Regions from separate parts of the Homo sapiens genome. Here region 1 is linked to region 2. Evidence: promoter capture Hi-C in 16 types of primary human blood cells and fetal thymus (Javierre and others, 2016). All regions are on one chromosome and are shown on one strand. The core of a region is centred on a gene start or on the middle of the fragment in contact, and the rest is flanking DNA. Distances in the headings are between cores, read along the strand shown.

The links. The method cuts DNA at HindIII sites, captures the fragments that hold promoters and counts their contacts. A CHiCAGO score of 5 or more calls a contact.
Region 1: a contact is called between a fragment that was not itself captured here and the fragment with the promoter of HHIP-AS1 in region 2, in 1 of 17 cell types (fetal thymus). The highest score is 5.3, in fetal thymus.

Annotation. Positions count from the first base shown.
Region 1 is chr4:145,082,198-145,089,221 of GRCh38, forward strand. All of the region lies in intron 2 of ANAPC10 (anaphase promoting complex subunit 10), which reads right to left. Among named protein-coding and RNA genes, the nearest start is that of ANAPC10, 12 kb to the right of the region's middle. The HindIII fragment of the contact is 2,403 bases long and covers 3,634-6,036 here.
Region 2 is chr4:144,641,013-144,647,854 of GRCh38, forward strand. HHIP-AS1 (HHIP antisense RNA 1) reads right to left here and starts at 5,007. Exons shown (of 2, transcript NR_037595.1): 1 at 4,695-5,007; 2 at 1,904-2,722. It overlaps HHIP (hedgehog interacting protein), which reads left to right and starts at 5,144. Exons shown (of 13, transcript NM_022475.3): 1 at 5,144-5,942. The coding sequence starts at 5,664. RefSeq lists an enhancer at 5,109-5,674. The HindIII fragment of the contact is 14,814 bases long and covers 1-6,842 here.

The DNA.
Region 1 (7,024 bases), core at 3,585-6,084, 440 kb after region 2:
GGAGTGCAATGGCACAATCTCGGCTCATTGCAACCTCCGCCTCCCGGATTCAAGCGATTCTCCTGCCTCAGCCTCCCAAGTAGCTGGGATTACAGGCACACGCCACCACGCCAGACTAATTTCATATTTTTAGTAGAGAAGGCGTTTCTCCATGTGGGTCAGGCCGGTCTCGAACTCCCAACTTCAAGTGATCCAGCCGCCTCAGCTTCCCAAAGTGCTGGGATTACAGGCGTGAGCCACCACGCCCAGCCGGATACATTTTAAAGAACGTATGTATTTAAACTCAGTTTCTTGTGCTTTTTGCAAGCTGATAGTAAAAATGACTAAGCACAAAATCCTCAAAAATAAACACATTCTAATAAGTTCAATATGCCATGCTTACTGAGACAAGAAAAAAGATGACTTAAAATATTTTCAAAAGGCATATATATTCTGAAGCCAAATGCTTCTGATTAAAATTCTGATTAATCAAAATTAAATTTACCCAGAATCCCATGTTCTCCATCCATTCTACATAAATGAAGTTGTACAATCCTGTGTTTTTTCCTGATTAAAACCACAATAATTCATACTAATTTTAGAAATGAATCTGATTTAATGGTAAAATGCAGACTTTTTAATAAGAGAAATAAGTTTAACTTACATTTCAGTTTTACACTAAGTAATATATTCATTATGGAACAAATCCAAAAGGAACAAGACACAGTGAAAAGTCACTATCTACCATCTCATTCTTCTCTCCAAATATAGTTAATGTTTTCAGTTTATTGCATGCCCTTTCACAGATACTATATGCATATACAAGCAGTCATATATGTATTCTTTCTATTCCCTTTTCTTTAAACAAATGATAGCATACAGTAAATAGCTCTGCATGTTGGTGTTTTTTAATTTTACTTAACATATCTGGAGTTTTTTACCATACGAATATTTATTCCATATCAATAAATTAACAACAATAATAACAATAACAAACACTGATATCACATTAACTATGTGCCAGGCGCATTCTAAACATTTTATATATGTTAAATAATCTAATATTTATTAGCTCATATAACAACATAAACAGCTTCCATATTTTTTAAGGTTGTATATTCTACCACTGTCTGGAAATATCATAATTATCTCACCACACCTCTGCAGAACATTTAGGTTGTTTCCAATGTTTTGCTATTACAAACAATACTGCAATAAACACCTAGCTGTCTACAATCTTTAAATATATGTTATTTCTAGAGAATAGATTTCTAGGAATAGAATCCTGGGTCATTTGAATCTTTAATTTGATAAATATTGCCAAATTGTCCTCTAAAACATTTCCTCACCAAAAATGTAAAAGAATACCTATTCCCTCTCAATGGCTAGTAAAAGTTGGTATGTTCTGAAATTAATATACCAGATTTTGATGACTTTGTATGACAAAAACTTTAAATATATATCTAATGTTTTTATATTGATTATATGTTGAAGGGATATTTTGAACATACTGAGAAAAATAGAATAATTGCACTTTTATAAAATTTTTTTAACGTTGTTGCTAGATAATTTTAAATTACAAATGTGGTTTGTGTTACATTTCTGTTGGATAGCACTGCTCTGCACCCAGGCAAAAATGCAGTTAATCTTTTAAATATTTACTCACCTGATAGATTAAAAAAATTGTATTTCACATTTATTAATATTTATATTTTCATGCTTATTCATATCCTCCTATATTTTCAATAAACTTAGGTCTTTTGATTATTCATAACACTTTTACTATTACAGATCTTTTTTTTTTTTCTTTTTGAGACAGGGTCTTGCTCTGACACACAGGCTGGAATGCAGTAGCACCATCAAAGCTCACTGCAGCCATGACCTGCTGGGTTTATGCAATCCTCCCACCTCAGTCATCTAGGTAGCTGGAACCACAGGCATGTGCCACCACATTCAGTCACTATTATGGATATTAACACTATGTCTGTTCCACGTAATCCAAACATGAATGGATTTGTATCTTAAATTTGCATCTGCTGCCTTTATTGTGCATACTAGTGGATAAAAGAAGTTTATCCAGAGAAAATGAGTTTTGCATTGAATTTCAAATTACTAGTTAGCTAGATAAAGAGGTAGAATGGTAAGATTCAGGGGCATTCAGCAAAGAGATAAGCATATAATGTCATGAATCAAGAAAAATGGCATACATGGAAAACAACAGTGGGTCCTTTGAGAGCTAAGGCAATACATTGGTGTGAAGCAGGAAATAAGCCAGACATATCAAAGGAGCCAGATCACACAGACCAGGGGTGTCTAATCTTTTGGCTTCCCTGGGCCACACTGGAAGAAGAACTGTCTTGGGCCACACATAAAATACACTAACATTAACAATAGTTGATGAGCTAAAAAAAAAAAAATTCATAATGTTTCAAAAAAGTTTACTAATTTGGTCTGCATTCAAAGCTGTCCTGGGCCATATATGTCGATAAAATGTAAAAATTGGGCTATTACTTCTTCCGTAACTCTTAAATCTGCACTGTCCAATACGGTAGCCACTAGCCACATGTGGCTACTTGAAATATAGCAAGTCCAAATTGAGATGTGCTGTAAGTGTTAAAATACACACTGGTTTGAAGATTAGGACAAAATGTAAAATATGTCATTAGTAATAGTAGTCCAGTTATACTAGATTTAAAAATATTATTACAATTAATTTCACCTATTTTTAGCCCTTTTAAACGTAGCTACTATAAAATTCCCCATGAAACTTGTATATATATTTCACGTCACATATTCTATTGGACAGTCATGCTTCAAATCATGCTTCGTTCTTTACACAATATTGCTAAAGCTAATCCAGAATATTAGGTAATGCAAGTTACAAGATAAAAAGCTGTTTTACCAGCCTGTGCAACATAGTGAGACACTGTCTATACAAAAAATAAAAAAACTTAGCCAGGCGTGATGGCACTCATGTGGCTGAGGCAGGGGGATCACTTGAGTCCTGGAGTTCGAGGCTGTAGTAAGCCATGACTGTACCACTGCACTCTAGCCTGGGCAACAGTGCGAGAAACGGACAAAAAAATAAAAATAAAAATAAAAATAACTGTTTTACCTCCAATATAAAGAGTTATAGGTCTTAACTCTCTTTTTCTTTTTAGTACTAGTTTTTGAGTTCCCTAGTAAAGGATAACTAAATCACGATTCTTCCGTAAAAGCTCCACAGTTTAATGTTCTATTGATTAAAAGGTTTTTTTTTTCAGTTATTTTATTTTGGCTACCTCAGCTAGGTTTTTTTTCTCCTCCATTTCACAACTTTATTATGTATGTGCTCAAAGAGGTTCAAAGAACAAAATAGTATTTGTTCTTAAAATGCAAAAAAAAAATTAAACACAAATCTGAATAATTTATTCAGAATAAGAAATGTCCTATAATTCAAAACTGATCATTTAAAATTTGTCTCTAATTTATTGCTTAGAAAGTATCATAGTACAACTAAGCAGGTCTAATATCTTCAAGTACTGATTAGTCTAAATCTTTATGTCTGAAATACTAAGTATGATTACCAACTTTTGCTTCTTCAATATGCCTTACAAACGGAACCTCTTACAAACATCTCCTTATGTGCCAATCCCGTCTCAACCTCTTTTCCAAAGCTTCCCACTCAGTATTGTATTTGAATTTTTTTTCTTTTTTTTTTTTTTTAAGATGGAGTCTCACTTTGCCGCCCAGGCTGCAGTGCAGTGGCGCGATTTCAGCTCACTGCAACCTCCACCTCCTGGGTTCAAGCAATTCCCAGAAGTGACTGTTGCAGGTGGCTGAAGCTCACCTTTGCAGGGGGCAGAGCTTCAAAAAATAAAAGTCTAAAATATGAAGGACGTAAGAGTGAAGACTTGCCTCAGCCTCCCCCAGAGTAGCTGGGATTACAGGCGCCTGCCAACACGCCCAGCTAATTTTTGTATTTTTAGTGGAGATAGGGTTTCACCATGTCGGCCAGATTGGTCTCAAACTCCTGACCTCAAGTGATCCACTGGCCTCAGTCTCCCAAAGTGCTTAGATTACTGGCATGAGCCACCGTGTCCGGCCCTGAATTGTTTTAATTTAAACAAAAGAACTAAAACAAAGACGTATCTATGATAACTGCTTTAACAGGTATCCAGAAAATCCACACAAATAACAATATTACACAGAAAAAAACTTTTATAAGAGGTACTGGTTCTCCAATGCAGTTATTATATGATGTACTGGTTCTCTAATGCAGTGGTTCGTACAGTGTCGTTCCTGAACCAGCAGCATCATTACCACCTGGGAACTTGTTAGGAATTCTAGACATGTATCAGAAACTTTGAGAGCTCAGCCCTTTTGAGAGTTTATGTTGTGATAAATCCTCTAGGTGATTCTGATGCATGCTAAAATGTTAGAATTACTCCTCTAAGGCAAGGTTTCTCAATCATGGCAGTACTGATATTTTGGACTGAATAATTCTTTGTTCAGTACAGGGGATGTCCAGTGCATTGAAAGGTATTTAGCTGTATCCCTGGGCTCTACCCACTAGATGCCAATAGAAACACTCCCCCAACTCCCCAACTCCCCCCACCCTCATGTCCCCAGTAATCACAACAATCAAAAATATCTCCAGACTTTGTACCCTGGAGGGTAAAAGCATCCCCTGGTGAGAGCAACTGCCCTAAAGAAAAGAAAATCAGTATTCATCTATGGTTATTGTTATTGTTTGGTAAATATTCATGCTTCTCTCCCCACTCTCCATGGGAGGGATACGATTCTGCACTCCAGTCAATAACGGGGCTAAATCATGACTTACTTCAGTCAATACACTGTGACACAAGCAGAGGCGGTAAATGTGCTTGCAAAGTCTGGCTTGGTCTTCTGAATGCTCTGCACTCCACTAAGAGAATATGCCTGGACAAATGGAGCAGACTTGAACCTGACTCACAGCCTAAAGCCGAGCCATCACCAAAGCACAAAGTAAATTTGGCTGATCATGCCACTGAGAGACTAGGGTTGTTCGTTAAGCAGCATTAGTGGAGCAAGAGCACTAACACAACACCACTAGAGACATATTTGAGCAGCCCAGCTTAGACTGCCTTTATGAATAAAACAGTCATTTTCCTTTCAAGCATATCTATTAACACAACTACTTTCACATTTGCTAAGGGGCTGTTTTTTTCTTTTTTTTTGAGACAGGGTCTCATTCTGTTGCCCTGGCTGGAGTACAGTGGTACGATCACAGCTCACTGCAGCCTCAACCTCCTTAGGCTCTGCTAGGGGGCTATTTTAACTGAGGCAAATGTCTTAACTATGAAGACCTAAAGATAGATACAAATGGTCTCTGTAGAGAAGTTCATCCATATCATGCACTAGACCTACACTGTGGCTATATACATTTAAACGAAGTAAAATTAAAAATTTAGTTCCTCAGTAACAGTAGTAACATTTCAAATGTTCAATAGTTTCATGTAGCTAGTAGTTACCTCACTGCATGGTGCACTAAGTTCTAATGGACAGCACTGATAGATTTAAGCAAATAGATTATAATATGAAGTATTAGTACAACAATAAAGAGATGAGGCCAGGCGCAATGACTCATGCCTATAATCCCAGCATTTTGGGAGGCTGAGGTGGGCGGATCACTTGAGGTCAAGAGTTTGAGATCAGCCTGGCCAACATGGTGAAACCCTGTCTAAACTAAAAATAAAAAAAATTAGCTGAGTGTGGTGGTGCGCACCTATAATCTTAGCTACCTGGGAGGCTAAGGCAGGAGAATCACTTGAACCCGGGAGGTGGAGGTTGCAGTGAGCTGAGATCGCACCACTGCACTCCAGCTTGGGCAACAGAGCGAGACTCCACCTCAAAGAATAAAAATAAAAGAGAAATGAAGAATTAACTAACTTCCTGAAACACTTGTTTCCTCTTGACTTCTATCCATGATTTCTCACTCTCTTGGTTTTCCTCCTAGTTCACTAGCCACTTCTTAGTATCCTTTGTTGACACCTCTTCCACTATTCTGCCAGATCTCTTCATCTTCAAGTGTCCCAAAGCTTTATTCTTTTCTCTAAATTCTCTCCCTAGATGAGTTAGTCCAGTTCCCTTAGAATATCATTGGCACACTGATGACCTTCAAATTTGTATCTCCAACCCAGAACTTCAAGCAGAGCTCCCAGCCTCTACAGTCAATTGCTTACTAAACATTTCAACTAGAAAAATAGGCATTGCAAAATTAACATATATAAATTAAATTATTTATTTTTTGACCCAAAATCTATTTACTCCCTCCACTCCCTCCTTCTTTCTCAACTCAGGAAACAGTATGAGTTGTTCTGCCAGAAAGGTCACTCTGAAGGTTTCCTCCTGTGAATCGTAATTATTCCACCTCTAAAAATATATCCCAAAGCCATCATTCCTTTCCATATCAACAGTTCTTAATCCTAGTCCAAATCAACATCATCTCTAACATAAATTACTATAACATCATTTCCTCCATTGGTGTTCACCATTATGCCACTATCAACCATTATCCACAGTGGACACAGTCATCTTTTAAAAATTCTGTATCAGATCATCTTCCTCTCCTGCTTAACACCTCCAGTGGTTTCCCTTTGTACTTAAAATCAATACTCTTTTTCAGGGCCTACAAGAGTTCATATAATCTGTCCCACCATGTCTAATTACATTTCCAATCCACTCTACCATTTCTCCTCCTTACTCACTGCTCTCCAGCCCCTATAGCCTTCTTTCTGAACCTCTAAAATGCCAAATCAACTAACTTAGAGCCTTTGAACTAACTTCCTGGTGTCAAGAAAGTTCTTCTCTGAAATCTTTGCACAATGAATTCTTCTTAACATTCATGTCTCTGTGCAAATTTCACTTATAAAAGAGGCCTTCCATAATCCCACAAACTAATGTAGCCTCCCACTTAAAGTTACTTTCTATTATATTGCTGTCTTATTTTCTGCAAAGCAAATATCACTATTCAACTCAGAAATCCTTTAACTCAAAGGCCATAATTGTCAGTTATAGCATGAAC
Region 2 (6,842 bases), core at 3,757-6,256:
TCCCCTTTTGCCTTTTCAGTTCCCTGACACCTATTTAACTAATTCCTCATATGTAATTTGCACTGTGAAAATAGCTAGCATGGTTTATTTCTGACAAAGGCCCCTGATTGAAAACCATCTCATTCCGAATTAAGAGTCTAAATCCATAACATACCTTATAAGATCCCATGCAATGTGGACCCTGGCTATTTCTCTGCCCTTGTTTCTTGTATCTGCCCAAATATTGCCCCAGTAAACACTTTTCCTGACAATGTATACAAAATTATTATTTCTCCCAACCCCTGCAATCTTTCCCCATGCTCCCTTTTCTCTGCAGCATTCCTCCCCATCTGGTATACTCTATATCGTTACCCGTCTTCCCCATTACAATATGAGTTCCATGAAAAAAGTTTTGTTCACTGCTGTGTTCCTAGGGTCCAGAGCAGGCTCTGGCACACAGTAGGTGCTGACTTTTGAAAGAAAGACTAACTGTAGAAAAAATCCTAGAAGCAGCCCTACCATTGTGTCCATTTACCTGAATTATAACCAATCTTTAATTTTTAAAGGCTGTGTATTTATTGCCTCGCTTTGCTGGCCGTCCTTCCTCTGTGGAATCACACTTTAGTAGAAAGGTCAGCTGCACTTCCTTAGTGATGGTGCACTTTAAATTGTGTGCTTTCTTCTATTTCAAAATTTACTTTTTGAGACAGGGTCTTGTTCTGTCACCCAGGCTGGAGTGCAGTGCAATCATAGCTCACTGCATGCAGCCTTGATCTCCTGGGCTCAAGTGATCCCCCCACCTCAGCTTCCCAAGTGGTTGGGACTACAGGTGTGCTCCACCATGCCCGGATAATTTTTCTAATTTTTTTAGAGATGGAGTCTCACTATGTTGCCCAGGTTGGTCTCGAACTCTGGGGCTCAATCAATCCTCCTACCTTGGACTCCCCAGTTGCTGGGATTACAGGGGCAAGCCACTGTGCCTGGCCCAATTTAAAGTTTTTATAATGCAAATATGAGCTCCATTTTAAACCTTTAAAAATTATCAACTCAATCAAGATCAGCCACTCAGCAGCATTTATTGAGAGGCCGGTTGCTCTACTATGAGTCTAAACTAAACTATGTTGGCGTCTCCAAAGAAGGAAATGCAATTCCTGCCCTTCTGGAGATTATAATCTCATGAATATTCAACTTGCACATATAAAAACATCTCAGGTATTTACCAATGATGCACAAAAGAAAATAAATAAAATGTATCTATATGCTTTTTAGATGAAGTGCAATGCTTGAAAGGCCATTCAAACTAGAATAATTCTTAGAAGAGGTTGCTGTTAAGCCAGAATTTAAAGAAAGAGACAAAGATGGATAAGTATAAGGTAGGAAAGAAAGAGCACTTGCAAAAACAAAAGGAAATGACAAATACATGGCACTAACTTAATTAGTTACCTGGAGTGTATAAACTAAAAATCTACGAATTTGGCCTCTAGCCTTTCCATTCTGAGTTATCTATTCTGCACTTCTCCTCAAATGTATCAAATTATATTCTGAACTCAAAAGATCCTATACTTTAAACAGTGGTTGGAGTCACTTCGTACTCCTTCCAAGTCATCCTAAGTCTCAACTGAAATGTCATTTTCCCAGAGAAGTTTTTTCCAGTCACTTAATCTGAAATAGGTGTGCTTTGTTATTCTGTACCTTAGCATTTCTTTCATACCTTTTACCACAATTTATAACTGTAATTTTATTTGTGACCTTATCATTTGTCTTCTATACTAGATTATTAACTACCTAGAAGCAGGGTGTTTGCATTATTTTTCAGTACTATATACATACTGTTTAGCACGGTGCCTGACACTTAATATATATTTGTTGAAATGGAATTAAATAGTACATATTTCTGTGAAGGCCAGAAATCCATACATAAAACTGATTCCAAAACTCAAAATAATTTTATTTCAAACACTTAACAAAGTTAAATTGTCCTCACTTCTGATACACAAAAATGTATATTCATATAACTCTCTTGATATATACATATACATACAAACATAATTCACATACATGGTAATATTCTGACCTTTACCTCTGAAATTAATTTCAATTTGTGTCATATATTTCATTTTTTACAATAAACTAAATACGTTCATAAAAATAATTAATTCTTCTAAAGTAGGGAATATAACCCTGGATAGGACCAGGGTATGAGGGTGGGATGGTCCGAGCTGGTGCCAGCTCATACAAGATGCATTGGTGCACATTTTAAAAAGGACCCACATCCTCTGGGTAGACACAGACACACAACAACATAAGCTCTGCTTGGTGAATGGAGCCTGGGCAGGACTTCAGCTCCCACTTTATGTGCTCTTGCACAGGGCATGACCTATGCATAGGTGGCAGTCCTGGAGAGGGTTGCTCAGTGGTGGTGTGAGCAGAAGATGTGATCTAGCCACCCTTGGGCTGTTCCACTCCTTGCTGGAAAGGGCCGATTTGATTTGTCTGGATTATTTTGGTCAACAAGGGGTCCCTTCTTCTTTTCACCACTCTGTCGGTTTAGCTGAAGAGGAAGACCTCTCCAATGAAAGAGGACCATTTTTCACGTTCAAGTGTATGCATGGCTATCCTCTGCTTCTTCAGCCTCCAAGGGGGCTTTTAAGGTTTAATCTAAAGAAATAACCCTGTATTGATTCTTGATTCCTAAGAAATTATGCTGTCAGTCTGGTTGTAGGCAAGGGTTGCAATTTTCCCTCTGGAAAAAACAAATCAGAAGTTAGTCCATTTGTATAACACTGCTTAGTAACTGTTTAGAAATTATATCAGTAACACTAAGAATAAGCTCAAGCTATCTCCTAAGTGACCCAATTTATTGACTTTCAGGACAAACAGTATATGAAATCAATTCTAATTTCCATATATCAAGAAATAACAAGCATGTCTTATTTCAGTAATCTTTTATAAACTTTCTATATCTTAGGGTCGTAGGTTATAACAGATGCATAGTATTTTAAAACCAAAATAAATTTACCTTTAAGTGGCCTTAGTATAAGCCATAAGAAAGGCCTGTTTCAAAACTACTAACAGGAATTTATCAGAGTAGGAGCTCAAACTACTGAAATACGATTTTAGAAGGACTTTTATTTTGGAAAAAGAATATAAAACTGGAATTTGGGAAGAAAGGGTTAGATAGTGGAAAGCACCCCAGATTGGATCCGAGTCCTTATTCTCAAACTACCTAATGAGATGAAATTGTGCAAGTGATTTAAATTTGATGAGATTCATCTGGAGATCTATTAATGAGTTTAAAGTCTTAAAGTGCTTACTGCTTTCTGATTAATTTTATATTAAAAGTCCTCAAAGCAGAAAGAATGTCAGATAAAAAAAAGTATGTGAGATCCAAAGTGGACTTACAATCACATGCATGAAGAAGTCATGTGTATACAACAGCCCCTGGGGAAAATGTTAAATATGTCATGGGGGCTCTACATTTAGCTGAGGACTGGGCCAAACATCCTAGCAGATTCTTTTCAGTTATTCTGATGTGTCATCTCTTTGGGGAAAAACCTAACTTCACTAATATCCAGGCTCAGGAAGTGAAAAAGACAGAAGCCTTACCTAGCCACTGTGACCAGAAGTGATTAATTTAATCAACTGCCCACCTCAACCATCACCAACTTTTGCAATCACTTGGCGAAATCAATGTCCAACAAGTGAAGCAAACCCAAATGTGGTGAACATTCCTCCATTGCCAAAATGGGACAACTGCCTTATCTCCTCATCAAAGCCCATCTTCTGGGAAATCAGCTTCTCTGTTAAATACCCAAGTGGGCTAGAAGCGCATTTTGTGGGCAACCCTATAGAAGCTCGTCCTGATGCCAACTTGCAGGGATCCAGTAAACCTCAAGTCACCGCTCCTGATAACGTAGACATCTTTTTAGACACACTATTTACACAGACTTTGTCTAGCTGGGGAAAAGGTTAATTTACTTGTATACACGGGGATAAGTAGAGCACAGCGCTTCTGGATGCCCTCAGACTTGCATCTAATTCTTTCTCCAGATCTAACGCCTCTGTTTCTACACCCAGGGGAACCTCTCCCCAGGGACTGCGCGCGCGTGCGTGCAGGTGTGTGTGTGTGTGTGTGTGTGTGTGTGTTTGTGTGTGTTAAAACGAACACTAATTCCGCGCCCAGCTTCTCTCTCCGTCCACCTGCGGCCCAAGAACTTGTGTTCCCAGATGGTACCAGCGGGGCCCGGCTTATTCCCGAACACATGTGGGGACCTGAAAGGGGCGTCGGGGACTAACCCGCCCAAACCGTGGCAAACACTCTGGGAGGCCGACTTGGGCTTGGCCTGTGGCCCGACACACCGCCCCACTCCGCGCACACGCGTCTGTGCCACTTCAGTGGCTTGCAGGACCTCCGGCGAGGATGAGTCTCCAAACCATCTCAGCCTACTCAACGGCATCTGGGATGTCCCCCTGCCTCTAAGTCAGACCCCAAGAAAGATCTTTGAGGACTTGAGCTTCACGTTGAAAATCAGTGTGGAAAATGGGGGTGTCAGTGCGGCTGGGGGAGACAAAGGGGCCCAAAAGCTCCCTCCCGTCCGCTCCAGCCCACTTAGTTCACCCTCCCACGGGGCGAGGGGCGGGCCGGGGGGCTGAGGTGGGGATGGCCCTGGAAGGGGTCCCTCCCTTCCCACCTCCTACGGCCCACTCTTACTTACTTTCTTTCGGAGCCTCAGCTTGGCCGCCTTTAGCCCAGGCAGTGCGGAGGGGAAGCGGGGAGGAGAGAGGAGCCTGCGGGCTGCAGCAGCCGGGCAGTCCCGGAATCTCCGGACTGCGTCCCTGCCCCAAGCCCGCCGGGAACCCGGGCCGTGGACGCCCCCACCCGGGGGCCGCGGCGAGGCGGGCGCGCGGGGTTCAGCACCCTCGAGGCTGGTTCCGAAGGCTCGCGGCCCTCCCCCTCCGTCCGCCGCCGTCGCGGCTAGCCGCCCCTCCCCGCCGCAGCAGGGAGGCCGCCGGGGCCCGGGGGACGCGCTCGCGCGGGGGCCGCCCCCTCCCCTTCCCTCCACCCTGGGCGGGGGCGCGCGAGAAGCGGTGACGTCAAGGGGCGCGCTGTGGCAGCACCTCCCCGCGCGCTAGTTAAAAAGAAGAAGAAAAGAGGGAACGAAACATGAGAGGCTGTGTGAGAAGCTGCAGCCGCCGGCAGAGGAGACCTCAGCATCATCTAGAGCCCAGCGCTGGCCCTGCCTCCGCCTGCCCCGCCGCCGCCGTCGCCGTTTCTGTTCCTGCTACTGTCCCACCTAAACAACTCCCGTTACACGGACAAGTGAACATCTGTGGCTGTCCTCTCCTTTTCTTCCTCCTCTTCCAACTCCTTCTCCTCCTCCCACTTCCCAGCCGCAGCAGAAAGCCCCCAACCCAACTGACACTGGCACAACTGCAAACGGTGTCATCCGCACAACTTTATCTCGCTCCTCGGGCTCCCCTAAGGCATTGGACCCATCGCCGCGTCTTTTATTTTTTGCAAAGTTGCATCGCTGTACATATTTTTGTCCCCGCCACCTCCCTCTGTCTCTGGAGTGCCCTACAGCCCCGCAAACTCCTCCTGGAGCTGCGCCCTAGTGCCCCTGCTGGGCAGTGGCGTTCCCCCCCATCCTCCCGCGCCCAGCCCCTGCTGCTCTGGGCAGACGATGCTGAAGATGCTCTCCTTTAAGCTGCTGCTGCTGGCCGTGGCTCTGGGCTTCTTTGAAGGAGATGCTAAGTTTGGGGAAAGAAACGAAGGGAGCGGAGCAAGGAGGAGAAGGTGCCTGAATGGGAACCCCCCGAAGCGCCTGAAAAGGAGAGACAGGAGGATGATGTCCCAGCTGGAGCTGCTGAGTGGGGGAGAGATGCTGTGCGGTGGCTTCTACCCTCGGCTGTCCTGCTGCCTGCGGAGTGACAGCCCGGGGCTAGGGCGCCTGGAGAATAAGGTAGGCACTCACCGGCTTCACGGATGCGTACTTGGCATATTGGCTGGGTGGGGTTCCCTGTGGCTCTGGCAAAGCCGGTGGTTGTAAGAAGGTCAAAACTTCTTTGGGGGAGTTCTTTCCATAACTTTTCTATAGCGCTAACGTGATTCCGTTGTGTGTTCCTCTGGGGTAAGCAAGTAGCATTTCCTCCCCCAGAGTCCGCGGTCGGGATGCTGTGCAAACTTGCCTATCTCTGAAAACAGACGTTTCTGCGGTACCCGCACCCTGGGCTGGGTAAATATTTTAAAAGAATCGCGATGAACAGTGTGTTTTGGATCGAATGGGGCATTGGCTGCGGTGAAACTGTAAATTAAGGTGGCTGTGGTTTCCGGCTTATTTTTCTAGGGTAAAAAGATTTGTGCTGTTTTCTCCACGTGCTCGGTTAGGGAGAGGATTGAATCGTAAAGGATGTTGAAGCATGGTTGGTTTATGATCCCCAGCCCCGTCAGAGGGGGGTGTCTTGCATTACATTAGTTAAACCAACAGAAAGGAACTCCTGGTCCTCCGGTTAGGGACCTGAAAAAAACTGGCGAAAGATTTTGCTGGGGCGTTATTTATCACATAAAACTGAGACGATTCTCCGTCATTTTGTAACATTATAAATTCAGACTTTCAGGGTCAGTTGGTGTCTTGGAAGATCTACTCTAAGAATTTGTTTTAAGAGTAATGGCATTTACGTTATCCTTGTGTTAATAAGTTTAAATACTAACATGGTGTTTGTTGACTGTAAAGGCACGCTTGTTTTTGAGTTTGCAATATCGTTCTTGCCAGGAGATGCAGTCATGGGTGGTATCTACTGTACTCCAAGGAATCATTGCTGGCTCACATCATTAACAATCACTGCACGTGAAATAAACAATC